Linked DNA regions of Homo sapiens: region 2 is linked to region 1. Evidence: promoter capture Hi-C in human tissues and cell types (Jung and others, 2019). All regions are on one chromosome and are shown on one strand. Each heading gives the region's core, a stretch centred on a gene start or on the middle of the fragment in contact. The rest is flanking DNA. Distances are from core to core; before and after follow the strand shown.

Evidence for each region. Contacts are between HindIII fragments. The study calls those that stand out against the background at their distance.
Region 2: a contact is called between a fragment that was not itself captured here and the fragment with the promoter of MSANTD4 in region 1, in 1 of the 25 tissues and cell types used here (mesenchymal stem cells).

Annotation. Positions count from the first base shown.
Region 1 is chr11:106,020,935-106,023,578 of GRCh38, forward strand. MSANTD4 (Myb/SANT DNA binding domain containing 4 with coiled-coils) reads right to left here and starts at 1,306. Exons shown (of 3, transcript NM_032424.3): 1 at 28-1,306. RefSeq lists enhancers at 828-947, 1,778-1,847 and a silencer at 1,278-1,387. The HindIII fragment of the contact is 5,723 bases long and covers 1-2,644 here.
Region 2 is chr11:105,631,286-105,633,929 of GRCh38, forward strand. The region is part of intron 3 of GRIA4 (glutamate ionotropic receptor AMPA type subunit 4); the gene reads left to right. Among named protein-coding and RNA genes, the nearest start is that of GRIA4, 23 kb to the left of the region's middle. The HindIII fragment of the contact is 3,653 bases long and covers 1-2,644 here.

The DNA.
Region 1 (2,644 bases), core at 56-2,555:
TTGTTGAAGTTCTGTAGATATGCTTACCTGGATAAAAGCCATTTCCAGAAATGTTTGTCTTCCTGTCCTCTCCTTTATATGCCGGTATCCAAGTAACAGAAGCTTGGGTTTTCTACCATCCATTCATTCCCCAATAATTTCCTCAAAAAATACTTACTGAGCTCCTACTGTGTGAAAGGCACTATTTTTGGTGCTGGGGATATAACACCTCATAAAATGTGAAAATATGTCATTTTAGATGTCAAACACTATCCCTTTTCTATTGCCTGTCATCGCTCTCTTAGCAGAAAGGATTCAACAGCTGCAGTCTCTAAAACTTACAAACCTTCTATGCCCAATCACAGAGAACAGCCATTTTCTAAAATCCCATTTCACAATCGTTCTTCACTAGTTGGAAACAGGAATGAGATGTAGTTCACTTACGTAATCCTTGTGAAGATGATGTACTGCCAATGGCATAATATAACCAGGCAACTTTTTACAAGCACTAAAACTTGAGAATGAAGTTCCTAGATACTTCATGATAAGTCAGAATTAAGAAGTCTGAGAAAAACCAGACGGCAAGTTCCGGATCAAAAAAATTTGAGGGTAAATTAGTTAAGCAGTTCAAGAAGAAAAGCATCACAAATCTACAATATCAAACCCTACCCAAATTCTCTTTAAAGTGTGGCTTTCCCCTCCCCTATATTCTTATAGGGGATTCACTTCCCTGCCAAAAAGTATGTTCTTCTCTAAAACTCGTGGTAGGTGCATAACAAGTATACTTATGGGTCGACGGTTATCAAAGTATCTTTCACCTCCCTCCCGCTGCCTCCTTTGGGACCGTCCAAAAAGAGCCCCTGGGAAGAATCGAGTTAGACTGGGCTCCCGGAAGGCCACCCAGGGGAGCAGGGGCGCGCACCTGCCTCGGCCACAATGATGAGGTTGCTGCTGGTAGGAGTCCCGGTGGGAGTCGGGGCAACCTGGAAGATCTCCTCTCTCTGGGTATTAAATGAGAGTCCCGACTGAGTGCCCAGAAACTTCTGCAGTCTTGTTTCCGTGGCCTGGGCCCTCCCCAGCCTCCCCGGTCAGGCGACAGACGCGCGTGGCACTTCTCCCGAGCGTGCAGTCCCGCTACGTCGCAGCCCTTGGACCAAACCCGGCAGCAAGCGTTGCGCCAATTGCCGCTGACCCCTCCGGGACCCTACCCACTGCGAGGGCACCCACTGGTCACGGAGCCGCCGCTTCCCTGGCCGCCTCCTCCAGCATAGAACCGCTCACCTGCGACCCCGGCGGCACCTCCCCACGGTCGCCCCAAGGGGGGTAGGAAAAAAGATGCTTCATTGATCCCCCGCCCACTAACTGGGCCCGCCCATCTCCCGCCACCCCAATGGCTCATATGGCTGCCGCTCATTTGATGAGTCTCATCCATTGGTTAGAATGGTGTAGCCATTCTGGCTGAGAGCCCGCCCTAGGCCTGGCCTCACAATGGGAATCAAGTCCCAAACCGGTTCCGGGTTAGTGCCCTGGAATTCCGCCCCCTCGTGATTCACCTCCCTGTCTGTGCCCCGTCTGTGGCGCGCAGCTCTGTCAGTCAAGTGGACTCTAGGAAGGGATTGGCCCCTAGAGATCCGCTTGCTGCGCTGTTCCAACTGATTGGGGCACTGGCCGCTGCATCTCCAAACTCGTCTCTTGTCCTTGACCCTCACCTGTTAAAAGGGCAAAGAAGAAGTAGGAAACTTGTGCTGCTCCAGTCGGGTTCTTAGGCCAGCATCACCTTCTCCTCGACCAGCTGCGACCTAATTGGCCTCAGCCATTCCTCTAAGGCTGCCCGTGCCAAAGGTCGCTGGTGACTTCCTTATGGCTAAATCTAGGAGTCACTTCTTAGTCCTTATCATACTATATACTTCCCAGAAGACATTTGAATTTTTTTTTTTTTTTTTTTTTTTTTTTACCATTCTTCACTGTTTCCCCAAATATGTGCTTCTGCTTTCTTCTCTCCCAGTCCTCCTCTATATTCAAGTTTGCAGTTGCTTATTTTCTGCCGTCTCACGTTCAGGTGTTTGTGATTAGTGCACCTTTCTTCCCGCTGCCTCTGTCCAGGCCTCTGTGGACTCACCTGAATTCCATCAGTAGCCTCCTAGCTGGTCTCCCAACATCCTGTCTGCCGGACTGTAGTTCATTCTTCACGTTGTAGCCAAAATGAGCTGCTTAAAGTTTTTTAGTGGAATCTCACCACTGGTGATACAGTACAAACTCCTTATCGAACCTGAAAAATAAGGCACCTACTTTTCCCTCAACCTTCATCTCTCGACATTATACCCACATTTCTTCTTCCTTACCCCATTCCCTTTGCTTCTTTCAGTTCCTGAACTCTACAGTGGCTACTGGGAAGTCAGTTTGCATTGCTGTGTTTCCTCCCTGCTTCTCCGCTATGCCTAGCATTCATTTTTAGAAATTCCTTTCTAAAGGAAGGCTTCCAAAATTATCTCCATTCACCCTCCCTCCACTTCCAAGTATTCCCTTCCCTGTAGGTTTGCCAGATAAAAACAGGACGCTCAGTTAAATTTGAAGTTCAGATAAAAAGCAAATAATTTTTAATCTGTCCAATGGAATATTTGGTATCCATATGTTTATTTGCTAAATTTAAAAAAATAAAAATTTT
Region 2 (2,644 bases), core at 91-2,590, 390 kb before region 1:
AAGATGTTCTCTCTTTTCATGAGCCAGAGGATAGCTTAAGATAACAGAAGAAAGAAAAAGACTGTCCATTACCCAGACTAATTTGATTAATGAAGTAAAATTGGACCGATATACTTAGATGTCAGAATTTATATGGAGAGAAATGAGCAATTAAATAAAACAAAATCCTTTGGCAGCCCCAGATTAGACTCAACAACTGTGAATCTGAACCACTCATATTGTCTCATAGATAACAAACTATTTATCACTTCTATATTCTATATTCCTTATGCATCTGTGTGTGTTTGCTACCAAGTTATTTGCCCCTGTTAATATGCAGCTTCTTTAGTGTTCAGTTGTAACTTTAATTAACTGAGTGTTCACTTGGCAACTGTCTTGCTTTCTTTGCTGTGCCACACACTTTATTGAAAAAAAAGTCAGACTTGATACTGGGCCTTACAAAGCTTATTATATGCTGGAAAGACAGAAGCAACTTGTTATGAATAAGGTGATAAGTATGTGTTAAATCAGAAGGTGTTGTGCATTGTATCATAATTGCCAAAGAAATACTATTAGGAGGGGCCAGATTTTATAAAAATAAGACTTAATAAAGTGGAGTTTAATCTTGAATGAATGAGGAGGTCAAGGAGGGGTATAAAAGAGTGTTGAAGAGAGCAAATAAAAAACCCTAAGCTACAAAAAGGGATGAGGTGGCACAGGAAAGCATCTCATTGGATATGAATGAATAGTGTTGGAGGGAGGGAAAACAGGAGGGCAAAAGCCTAATTATAAATTCAGGACTTTAGAAGCAAATAAAATAAAAGTTTGAATTTGATAACAGGGATGGTTTGGACAGGGGATTGATAATTCAAGAACCGTAATTCTGTCATGGGTATGCAGTATCAATTTAGAGAATAAAGAGGATAGACACAAGAAAGTGAAATGGACTGAATTAAAGTCTTACTCCTCTCTCATCTCTTATAATTTCTTACTGTTTTGGGTTCTCTTCAGTCTAAAGTTTTAGCTGACACCCCATCTCATCTCCACATAAGAACCTCTACTCCAAATATGTCTGTTTACACTTCCACTTTCCCAGTTTCAAAGACCATAGCACTGCTTTAATGTCTGTCCCCATTTTTTTCATTTGTAGAAACACTTCCATTCTTCCAAAATTGGCTCTCTGGTGTAGAAGAGCATAGCCTCTGCAGCAAGGCCTGGATTCAGCACCCAGCTTTGCTGTTCATTAGCTATGTGAATTGTTGACAAATTAATCATCCTCTTTGAGTTTCAGAGTCTAAGTTATAAATTAATGGGAATGACAACTTGCCTTGATTTTACTAGAAATATCTAAAGCAATGTGCATTAAAATACATCATATACAGTGCTTAGGGGCCAAGCATTGTGGCTGACTATAATCCTAGTGCTTTGGGAAGCTGAGGCAGGCAGAACACTTGAGGCCAAGAGTTCAAGACCAGTCTGGGCAACACAGCGGGACCCCGTTTCTCCAAAATAATAAATAATTAAAAAGAAAGAAAAAATTTTGTAGAAAGTGTTAAAAGTGTTTAGGCATGGACCTCTAAGCATTAATATAACCACAGTAAACACAGAAATAATAATTTGTATCATTCCCTGAGCCAAGCCTCATGTATACAAAATAAAATGCACATTTCAATGGCTGATGGAGGTGAGAGAAAAGGGGTCTTGAGAATTGTAACTTGGGAAGATGGTGCTGTTCACCAGGAAATACATATGAAATAAAAGGTCCTAAAGCAATATTATGAGTTTGTTTTGGAGCTGACTGAGTTAGCTGTCAAGTGTATCATAGTGTGTTATGTTTTATTTTCTGTTACAAGAAAGGTAACTTCTATAGGTGCTCACTAACGACTCAATGAATTAGTGCCATTTGAAAAGATGAATTTATTATGCCATTATATGGATTTCTGTTTGAAAATGAACTTAAATTCAAAAGATTCATTTTTAATGTGCATGTGTTTCACAGCTGACAATGTTGGCATTTCTTAGAAGATTTATACATATTTCTACATATTTATTTTTTGTCAAATTCAAAGAAACTAATTTTGAAATGTCAATTTACAATCTGTTCAATAGACTATGAGCTTCTTGAGGGCAGAGTCTATATCTATTTTTCCTTTATATCCCCTGAATATAGTTCATAGCACAGTATATTTGTTGTAAACCCTTAGTAAAAATTGTACTAAACCCTTAGTAAATATTTCTGAATGCAAATGTGCATTATTATTCAAGCTGTGAATCTGCAGATCAAGTGTAATTGCACTGGAGTTTAGAGACTATTAAAGAAAAACAAACTTATCTTCCATGACCATGCTTTTTTATCAAAGAGTCTATAGATGTAACTCATTAGAATAACTGAAGGCAAGTTTAGGAATCTCTAGAACCACAGAAACACAAATTCTACATTCTTAAGACCTGTATTTCAGACTTAGTTAAATAACAATATCAGAATCACAGACCTGGAAGAGACTCTCTGAAATCACATAAATGACAACCAGTTTACTATTTACAAAACTTTTCCATTAGCCTATCCTAATGGAGCCTCAAAACGATGCTGAGAAAGAACTAGAAATGACTTGGAAACTGAGACTTTTAGAACTAACCTGGTGCTTAGTGCACTTATGTTAAAAAC